Regions from separate parts of the Homo sapiens genome. Here region 1 is linked to region 2. The links are contacts of gene promoters, found by promoter capture Hi-C in human tissues and cell types (Jung and others, 2019). All regions are on one chromosome and are shown on one strand. Each heading gives the region's core, a stretch centred on a gene start or on the middle of the fragment in contact. The rest is flanking DNA. Distances are from core to core; before and after follow the strand shown.

Region 1 (5,437 bases), core at 2,148-4,647, 380 kb before region 2:
CAGCCTCCGTCTCCCGGGTTCAAGTGATTCTCCAGCCTCAGCCTCCTGAGTAGCTGGGACTACAAGCGTGTGCCACCACGCCTGGCTAATTTTTGTATTTTTAGTAGAGATGGGGTTTCACTATGTTGGCGAGGTTGGTCTCGAACTCCTGACCTTGTGATCCACTCGCCTCGGCCTCCCAAAGTGCTGGTATTACAGGCATGAGCCACTGCGCCTGGGCTATCCATTGCATTTTTAAAAAGGAGCAAAAGTCGTAGAAACAAACTTGATTGAAATCTGTTTATGACTAAAGCTGATATTATAAATGTGGTACCTTTGTGTCAGAGGCCCAGTTTGCTGATAGAAGATGGGGGCTGAGGGTTGTTGGGGCGGAGTGGGATCTCGTGGGGGTGGCTGGGTAGAAAGAGAGCTTGTCTTAGACTAAGATACTTTTTAATTCATTGGAGAAATTGGTCCATCTTCAGACAACCTGGAATGAAGCAGTAGAGTGCAGTATTTTCTAGAAAACGTGATAATTTCATTGTAACTTATATAGAAAATGTTTTCTCTAATTAAAAGAAGTTAAAACATTCAGATTGGCAACAGACTGCTGAATCCAAGGAATAATGGAGGGAAGTAGGTATCCTACATCCAATTCAAACAGGTTATATCACAAGTTCATTTGTAAGTCTTTTTCCAGGTTGTTATCCAATTCCACATATTAATGATGATTGGGGTCTTAGACTTTCCCTCTAAAATCTAATTAATCCATGAAATAGTTGACATACTTAAATATTTGTAATAAAACAGAATAATGTTGATGCTTAGTCAATAGGAAAATTAGCATAATTTTACTCAATTTTTAATGTTATCATTGAACTCTGGTGTAATTCATTAATTTATTCAGTACAGCGTAGTGGTAAATAGTTAGGCTGTCTGAGTTTGAGTTCTATTCTTAGTTTACCACTTACTCACTGTGATACCTGGGGTAAGTTATTTAACCTCTGTGACTGTTTTCTCATACCAGAAAATAATGAGTCTACCTAGAGGGTTTACGAAATGCTTTAGGACCATGCTTAGCATGGGAAAACAGTGAATAGTTAACATAGTGAGCACTAATTATGTACTAGGTACTGTTTTAGTTGCTGAAGATACAAAAAAGATGAAGTCTCTGTTCTCATAGCATTTATTTTCCAGTGGAGGAGGACAAAACAAATAAAAATGAGCATGATGATTCGTGAAACTTACAAACATAATTTCTGAGCAGGTTAGTGAGCCATGATTGCACCACTGCACTCCAGCCAGAGTGACAGGGCAAGACCCTGTCTCATTGAAAAACAAAAAAGAAGAAAACATTTAATTTTAGAGTATTAATCAGAAGCTTCTTGTTAAGATAATAAGAATATAATGGGTAAGTATGGGAGATCATTATAAAAGTAAAGTGTTGGGGCCAGGTGCAGTGGCTCACGTCTGTAATCCTAGCATTTTGAGAGGCCCTATTGGGAAGATCTCGATCTCTGGAGTCCAGAAGTTCAAGACTAGCCTTGGCAACATAGCGAGACCCTGTCTCTATCTATTAAAAAAAATAAAAATAGAAAAAGTAAAGTATTTATGCTGTTAATGATTTGAAATAATCACTTGTTCTAAAGCTGAACAATTAGATTTGTTTCTCATATCTTGTTTTCCACAAGATGAATGAGCTTTTGTAGTTGTAGTTTTAAGAAAGGGTCCATTTATATGTGACTGGTGGGCTTCAAAGGAACAAAAGAGTGTAAATATACTGTGCATTTGAAAAATCGCTTAAGTCAAAAGCCTCCAGATGGTGTGTGCTGCTGTGTTCACAGCTGTATTTACCAGTAGCTCACCACATTATCTACCAATAATTTTAAAATAGCTGGGTAGAAACAGTGGTATATTCAGCAGTAGTGACTTGTGTGCCTTTTAATAAAATGACAGTGAAAGTACCTCCTTTTGCATGTTCTTCAGGATTTCTTAGTTGGGGCAGTTTATGTTTTGCACAAACAACCTGAGTTTACATACAGAAGCAGATAACCAAGTTATTTTTATGTGGTGGTCTCTCAGGAATGAGGCTGGGGAAATTCTGCCGATCTGTATCACTCAAAGATGTTTTTGTTTTACTCACCAGCTTTATAATTTTAAACATTTAAAAAATGTTAAATATAGGCTACTCTGCCTAAGGAATAGCCGTTCTTTATTCCTTTGCTTTCTTAATAAACTTGCTTTCACTTAAAATGTTAAATATATGTAATTGATAACTTATACATAAATAATATTATAAGGTGAGTCTTGTGTGATGACATTCTTTGGCATTACCAACAAAAAAAGACAGGCCTTTCAATACCCAGATCTACTCCCTAATATGAACTTTTTTTTTCTATTCCAAAGATTTAATACAAGTTCTTTTGGAAGGACTCAAAATTTTAAGTCTTATTATTTTTGGCCACAGACACTACTGTTCATTTGCTTAGTAAAGTGAATGGCTTGCATAAGTTACATGTAAAACATAGAAAAAGAGTTTAGAACATTATCCAGGAACTTTAGAAAGTTGTGTGTGGTAGGTTGGGTGTGGTGGCTCGCGCCTGTAATCCCAGCACTTTGGGAGGCCGAGGCGGCGGATCACGAGGTCAGGAGATCGAGACCGTCCTGGCTAACATGGTGAAAAACATTTTGTAAAAATACAAAAAATTAGCCGGGTGTGTTGGCGGGTGCCTGTAGTCCCAGCTACTCGGTAGGCGGAGGCAGGAGAATGACGTGAACCTGGGAGGCGGAGCTTGCAGTGAGCTGAGATCACGCCACTGCACTCCAGCCTGGGGGACAGAGTGAGACTCCGTCTCAAAAAAAAAAAAAAGTTGTGTGGGGGGGGTGTGGTTGGGGGAAGAAAGATACATGTGTATTTATTTATTAATTGATTAAATTATACAGAAAAACCTATATCTAGATTGAACATTTGAACAATTTTTTCTTTTTGTTTTTGCTGTTTATTTCTTACTGTTACCTTCTTTTTTGAGTGGTAGGAAAATGACGCAGACAAGTTTTCATCTTATGTGTATGTTTTTTGGCTATTTACCTAGGCAGCTTCCTTAGCCTGTGCTCTTTCCACAGATCATAATTCTTAACATAGGTTAGAGTAAATGTTCAGTAATGAAATATTCACCTTTCTCAATATGTTAGATGTTCATGGAAAGGACTCTTAACAGTATTTACTCTTAAGTGTGTTGGGTGCAGGAGCAATTTGAGTTTGGATCTTATTATTTTTTTCACTAGTACCTCCATTACATTTTATTTACTTTTTTTTTTTGATAATTTCAACTGTTTTTATTTTATTTTTTATTTTTGAGATGGAGTCTTGCTCTGTTGCCGAGGCTGGAGTGCAGTGGCGCAATCTCAGCTCTCTATAATCTCTGCCTCCTGGGTTCAAGCTATACTCCTGCCTCAGCCTCCTGAGTAGCTGGGACTACAGGCGCCTGCCACCATGCCCTGCTAATTTTTGTATTTTTAGTAGAGATGGGGTTTCACCGTGTTGGCCAGGCTGGTCTCGAACTCCTGACCTCAGGTAATCCACTCGCCTCAGCCTCCCAAAGTGCTGGGATTACAGGCGTGAACCACCGCGCCCAGCCTTGTTCGTTTATTTGTGAGAGTGTCTCACTCTGTTGCCTAGGCAGGAGTTCAGTGGCACAATCTCAGCTCATTGCAACCTCCACCTTGCGGGTGCAAGCGATTCTTTTGCCTCAGCCTCCTGAGTAGCTGGGACTACAGATGTGTGCCACCACACCTGGCTAATTTTTATCTTTTTAGTAGAGATGGGGTTTTACCATGTTGCCCTGGCTAGTCTCCCAACTCTTGAGCTCGGGTGATCTGCTCACCTCTGCCTCCCATAGTGCTGGGATTACAGACGCGAGCTACCGTACCCAGCCTGTACCACATTTTCTTTATCAGTCCATCATTGGTGGGTTCCTAGGTTGATTCCATGTCTTTGGTATTGTGTATAGCGCTGTGATGAACATACGAGTGCATGTGTATTTTTGGTAGAACGATTTAATTTCTTTTGCATGTATACCTGGTAATGGGAAATCTCCAAACTGCTTTCCACAGTGGCTGAACCAATTTATGTTCCCACCAACAGTGTATAACTGTTCCCTTTTATCCACAGCCTCACCAGTGTCTGTTGTTTTTTGGCTTTTTAATAATAGCCATTCTGACTGGCGTGAGACGATATTTCATTGTGGTTTTGATTTGCATCTCTCTGATGATGAATGATGTTAAACATTTTATCATATTTGTTGGCCACTTGTATGTCTTCTTTTGAGGAATGTCTGTTAATGCCTTTTGCTTAGTTTGTAATGGGGTTATTTGTTTTCTGCTTGTTGTATTGTTAAAGTTCCTTATAGATTCTGGGTATTAGACCTTTGTCAGATGCATGATATTTAAATATTTTCTGCTATTTTGTAGGTTGTCTGTTTACTTTGTTGACAGTTTTGTTTTTTTGAGTTGGAGTCTCACCCTGTTACCCAGACTGGAGTGCAGTGGCGTGATCTCAGCTCGCTGCAACCTCCACCTCCCAGGTTCAAGTGATTCTCTGCCTCAGCCTCCCAAGTAGCTGGGATTACAGGCGCTCACTACCATGCCTGGCTTTTTTTTTTTTTTTTTTTTTTTTTTTAGTAGAAATGGAGCTTCACCATGTTGTTCAGGCAGATCTCAAACTGCTGACCTCAGGTGATCCGCCCCCCTGGGCCTCCCAAAATGCTGGGATTATAGGCATGAGCTACCATGCCTGGCCCTTTGTTGATAGTTTCTTTTGCTGTGCAGAAGCTCTTTAGTTTAATTAGGTCCCAGTTGTCAATTTTTGTTTTTGTTGCAGTTGCTTTTGAGGACTTAGTCATAAATTATTTCCTAAAGCCAAGGGTCGGAATGGTGTTTTTTAGGTTTTCTTCTGGGATTTTTACAGTTTGTGGTCTTGCATTTAAATATTTAATCCACCTTGAGTTGATGTTTATATATGGGAAAAGGTAGCGGTCCAGTTCTGCATATGGCTAGCTAGCTATCCCAGCACCATTTTTTGAATAGGCAGTCCTTTACCCATTGCTTGTTTTTGTCAGCATTGTCAAAGATCAGATGGCTGTAGGTTTATGACTTTATTTGTAGGTTCTCTATTCTGTTTCATTGGTCTATGTGTCTGTTTTTGTACCTGTACCCTCCTGTTTTGATTACCGTAGCCTTATAGTATAGCTTGAAGTTGGATAATGTGATGCTGCCAGCATTCCCCCCCCCCCCTTAGGATTTCTTTGGCTCTTTGGGTACTTTTTTTGGTTTCATATGAATTTTAGAATTACTTTGTTTAATTCTGTGAAAAATGACATTAGTAGTTTGATAGGAATAGCATTAAATCTGTAGATTGCTTAGGAAAGTGTGGTCATTTTAATGATTCTTCCAATCTATG
Region 2 (5,570 bases), core at 773-3,272:
TACTAAGGATTCATCTTCAAATCTGGGGATCAGCATTACCATTTTTATTAAAACTACATTTAGTAAAAACTGTTCACAAATGTTTATCATAAGAAGAATTTTAGAAACTCATTTTTGAGACCGGGCACAGTGGCTGACGCCTGTAATGCCAGCACTTTGGGAGGCCGAGGTGGGTGGATCACCTGAGCTCAGGAGTTCGAGACCAGCCTGGCCAACATGGAGAAACCCCGTCTCTACTAAAAATACAAAAAATTAGCTGGGCATGGTGGCGAGTGCCTGTAATCCCAGCTACTCCGGAGGCTGAGGCAGGAGAATCGCTTGAACCCAGGAGGTGGAGGTTGTAGCGAGCTGAGATCGCACCACTGCACTCCAGCCTGGGCAACAGAGTGAGACTCTTGTCTCAAAAAACAACAACAACAACAACAAAAATCCATTTTTAAGGTTCCCATAAAAATGGGTGAAAGTGGAATTTAAGATCATAAAATCTAATTTTCATGCACAAATACAAACATTCGCCAGACCATCTTTACTGTACCATATGACCATTTACTCGGTCAAAAGGAAATCCACTCATCTCCCTGGATCCCCCGAAGGCTATGCAAGGGGTCCACTGTGCTTCCAGAGTACAGAGGATGCTTAAAGTAACAGATTCCTCAAACTGTGTTGTGGGAAGTTTAAGCGGCAAATGATTAATAAAAGTAATCAATGTCAATGTAGTTTGAATGCTTACAATGATCCTACTACGAGCGGAAACCATTTCCTCATTTCTTTCTTCTCGTTATGAAAATGAGCTCCCCCCACGGGGTTGCCTTGGGCCACCTCCCTTCCTAGGGCGTATTTGCTTATTTGTTTATTTGAGACGGAGTCTCACTCTATCGCCCAGACTAGAGTGCAGTGGCATGATCTGGGTTCACTGCAACCTCCGCCTCCTGGGTTCAAGCGATTCTCCTGCCTCAGCTTCCCAAGTAGCTGGGATTACAGGCATGTGCCACCACGCCCGGCTAATTTTGTATTTTTAGTAGAGATGGGGTTTCACCATGTTGGCCAGGCTGGTCTTGAACTCCTGACCTCAGGTGATCCACCCGACTCAGCCTCCCAAAGTGCTGGGATTACAGGCATGAGCCACCGCGCCCGACCCCTCATGCTTCTTTCTACCCATTCTCAAAATTCTTCAGTGAGGTCCTCCAGGACCAGGAAGGTGCTCTACGGACTTGGGAGGGTGCACTTAATAGGCTAGTTACTGAATCGTGGCCGTTTCCCACTTTGCATCTCCGGCAGCTTGACCCCTACTCCAGGGCCAACTTTTCCCAAAAGCCCAGGCCAGGTGCAGCCTGAACGTGGCTTTCCTCCGCCCCTGACTCTGCTTCCCTGTAAGAGCTGAAAAACATGCACGGCTGTCACTCTAGAAATAATTAGAGAAGTTGCTGATTGTCGAGGGCAGAAGGAGCTGAACGGCTTCCACCTCAGCGCGTTCCCCTTGGTGCTGACTCGCTCGGGAAAGGGGAGTCCTCGGTGCCCTCGCTAAGTAACCCTGGGATGCTGAGGGGCGTTGCCAGGCCCCTGGTCAACAAGAGGGCTCAGCCCCACGCAAGAGGTGAGCCGGGAGCGGATGACACCTGCCCAGGTGACTAGGGACCAGGCCTCCGGCTCAAGGAGCGCATCAGGAGCTGGGGCCAAGGCCGGGGTCTCCTCCCCTTGCCAGCAAGGATGAGAGCACCTGCCATCTGGCCGGCACCCTCCCCTGGGCCCGAGGCTCCTGCCCTCGGAGGGGCGAGACGGGGGAGCTCCGTGGACTCTGCAATTCATGAGACTTCCACGAGGAACAAAGGTCTCCGTGCCGGCCTCGGGTCCCGGTCTCGGCGCCCTGACTACCCCGGGGCCCAGGGCGCGGCGCCCCGGCAGGCACGGAGCCAGAGAGCGGGCGGAGGGCGCGGAGGAGACGGTGGTACCTGTGGGTGGAGACGGCAGGCATCCCTGTCCCCGCTGGGCTGCTGCCTGCCCGGCCGCGGTCCCGGCTGCTGCAGCATCACCCGGGGCGGGGCGCTGACGTCACGGCCGCAGCCTCCGCATCCGCGCGGGGCCCGGAGCCTTAAAGCGGCGCCGCGTCTGGGGCCCCGCGGGCGGGAGGGGAGCCCGGTGTCCTCCTGGGCCCTTCCCGCGGGAGGCCCGTCCCGGTGCTTCGCGCACGACGGCGCGGTCTGCAGGATCTGCCAGGATCCCGGAGGAAAACGTCCCCCCGGCCTCACAGTTCTCACCGTTTTCTTCTGATTTTAAAAGAAATAAATACATTTTCGTGTCTTCATGTATAAATAGATACCCATGTGTTCGCGGATACGTGAATGCCGCAGTGCGTGTGCCAAGCCTGTGCCCATGTGCGCAGTGGGGCAGCCGGGCCTGCTGGAGGCGTCGCGACTCTGGGCCCGGAGCTGTCCAAGGCACTGGGGATGCCGCAAGAACAAGGCAAAGTTCCCGCCCCTGGGGGAACTTTGTAATGTAAGTAAATACATAAATACTTTATGTATTTATTATTTACTTCATTTTTTAAAATACAGAGAGGCAGGGCCTTGCTATGTTGCCCAGGCTGGTCTCGACTCCTGGGCTCAAGTGATCCTTCTGCCTCGGCCTCCCAAAGTACAGGTGTGAGCCACCGCACCCGGCTGCATGACATTTAAGAGAGAGACACACACACATTAAACAAGACATAAAATAAATGGTATGTCAGAAGATGGCAATGCCCTAGAGAAGGGGTTAGGGAGTGTGGGGCTGCAGAGGCGCTGGCCTTGCAGGTTTCTATCAGGTTGTTGGCGAGTCCTCACCTGGAAGGTGACACTAGAAGGAGGATTTGCGGAGCAGGCCGGGCACGGTGGCTCACACCTGTAATCCCTGCGCTCTGGGAGGCCGAGAGGGGCAGATCACCTGAGGTCTGGAGTTCGAGACCAGCCTGGCCAACATGGCAAAACCCCCATCTCTACTAAAAATATAAAAATTAGCCACACGTGGTGCTGGGTGCCTGTAATCTCAGCTACTCAGCTGAGGCAGGAGAATCGCTTGAACCTGGGAGGCAGGGGTTGCAGTGAGCTGAGATCGTGCCACTGCACTCCAGCCTGGGCCACAGAGTGAGACTCCATCTCAAAAAGAAAAGAAGGACCTGAGGAGCTAGGGGGGCCAGCCAGACTGACGTGTGGGGAAGGTCACGCCAGGCACTGGGAAGAGCAAGTGCAAAGGCCAGGGGCAGAAGTGAGCTGGGCTGAGTCCAATAATTACGGATGAAATAATTATGCAGCTGGTAGTGGAATAATAACCCCAGGGAAGCGCTGCAGAGTGGGGGCACGGGGCCCTGTGGAAGTTTACCGCGGCGGATTCCACCCCATTGGGAGGGTCGAGGGCTCCTCAAGGAGCCCTACCAGGCCAAGTAGAGAGAACAGCATGTCCCACACAGAGGGCTCAGAGAGCTCTGCACTGGCAGAGCTCCGGAGGGGAGAGGGCCTGGAGGCACACTGCAAAGGAAGTGGAGGGGGACAGGGATGCAGAGGCCTGGGAAGGAGGTGAGGGCTGGGGAGGTGGGACAGGCCCAGGTGTGGCCTCTTAGGCAGTTGCCAGTTTCTAAGAGCAAAGAGAAGCCTAGAAAGGTTTTATGTAGGGGAGTGGATGGCATGAATCCTATTCACAGTTAGCAAAGATCATAAAGCTCAGAGTGAAAACAGATTGGAGGGAACCAGGGGACCACATGGGCGTACCGGGTGGCACAGGTGGGAGAGTTGGGGGTGTTGGTAGAGGGAGAGAGGTGATGGACTGGCCGGGGACTTAGGACTCCATGATTGACTGAAGGTGGGGGGGTACAGGAACAGCGAGGGTGGTGCTAAGAAGTTTCTAGCTTGAGCGATGAGGGAAGAGAGTGGATTCATGGAGGCCAAAGCAGGTGTGTGCTGGAGTGAATGCCATAGGTTTGCTTTGGGATATGCTGAGCTTGAGGGCCTTCGCAGCCTCTAGGCCACCAGACACTTGGGTCTGGAGCTCAAAGATGCTCCTTTATGAGTCCCCTGCACATGGGAGCTAATTGCAGGTGAACTGTGGACCTCGCACTGCCAGGGAGAGGCGCAGGGCAGAGGGCCCCAGAGGACACCATGGGAATTTCAACAGATCCTGCCCAGGCTGAAGAGAAGGAGCCACTGGAGGGGGCTGGTTCTGGCTTCTTTTATCTCTATAACAGGGTAACAGCTTGAAAAAAATACCGATGTCCTTTTCTATTTTGCATGCAAGTGGCCTGCCATCAACTGATGAGCTTCAGCACCTCAGGGACTTAATGCAATAGAAGCTTACTTCCACATGAGGTTGGCAGAAGTGTGCCTGATGGGTGGGGACCTCTGTGAAGCCATTCAGGGATCCCGGTTGCCTCCATCTTGCTCTGCCCTGGTGCACTGAGGGAGGAGCCCAGGTGGTGCCTGCCCACGGGGCCAGGTGTGCAGGAGGCCCACGTTCCACTCGAATCCCATTGGCTAGGACCCTGCCACACAGCCACACCGGCCACACCCAACCCACAACAGGGCTGAGAGATGGGGCCCCTGTCCCCAGGAGAGGAGGAGATGGGGGTGGGGAGTTGCTGGCTTCAACTGCTTCTGTAACTTTTAGCTGCTTGCAGAGGGGAGAGAAGATGGGGAATGCTGAGAAAACTTAAAGATCATCTCGAGGTTCTGATGTTCACAACGGGATTTTGCAACAAGAGAAGAGGTTTGAAATCTAAGCATTGTTGAGAAAGAAAGGGATTTTGAAAATTCCTTTGACCTTTTTTAAACTTCCAAAGTGAGAACCTTCTAAGGCTAGAGCTTTTGCTTTTTAGCCCCTCCAAGTTCAGGGCAGAGAGCAGTGTTTCTCCCTGGGGGCAGACAAGATTTCTCCTGTCTCGACAATAGGTCTAGACTGGGGGCCAGAGTGGAAGGGGCTGACAGAACATGCAGGAAAGACAAGAGACGCTCGCCCTTCCGGTCCTGGGTGTGGGGGAAGGATGGCAGAGGGAGGAGGGAGAGTGAGGGGGAGGAAGGTGCTTGGGGTGCATCCCAGCTCCTTTCTCCCTGCGCCTCAGCCCTGTCGTGGCAGAGTTTGCTCTGGGCAGAGCCCCCGTACACCAACACAGCGGCCGCAGCCCGGCTGGGGGATCAGAACAGTGGGGGCTCTAATTTGCCCTGTGAGGCTCTTGTGGCTCCCATTCAGTGCCTGGATGCAGAGCTGAAGCTGCAATGGCCCCGTGGGGCTGGGACATGACGTGGGGTGGGGGGACCCTCAGCCTCACTGTGGGAAGGACAGTTGGGCCAGGTGGCTGGGTGGGGGGACTTTGGCAGAGAGACCTGGAGGGGTCTACGGGGCCAGCCAGGGCCCCAGGGAAGCAGGAGCCACACCAACTCCACGCCAGGATCTAAGGAAAACAGGGGACTGCTGCAGCCCTGCCACGTACACGGGGACCGGCAGGCAGCCAGGAGGACACAGGAGCCCCATCCACTGCCCCAGCCCAGAAAGGAACAGAGGATGGAGACAGGACATGCACAGTGTGAGCCTAGAGAGACCCAGTCGGACCC

Evidence for each region. The method cuts DNA at HindIII sites, captures the fragments that hold promoters and counts their contacts. A contact is called where the count stands out against the background at its distance.
Region 1: a fragment that was not itself captured here is called in contact with the fragment with the promoter of SLC45A1 in region 2 in 1 of the 25 tissues and cell types used here (adrenal gland).

Annotation. Positions count from the first base shown.
Region 1 is chr1:8,694,808-8,700,244 of GRCh38, reverse strand. The region is part of intron 1 of RERE (arginine-glutamic acid dipeptide repeats); the gene reads left to right. Among named protein-coding and RNA genes, the nearest start is that of RERE, 120 kb to the left of the region's middle. The HindIII fragment of the contact is 5,747 bases long and covers 524-5,437 here.
Region 2 is chr1:8,314,566-8,320,135 of GRCh38, reverse strand. SLC45A1 (solute carrier family 45 member 1) reads right to left here and starts at 2,022. Exons shown (of 9, transcript NM_001080397.3): 1 at 1,950-2,022. RefSeq lists a silencer at 1,913-2,192. The HindIII fragment of the contact is 6,823 bases long and covers 1-5,022 here.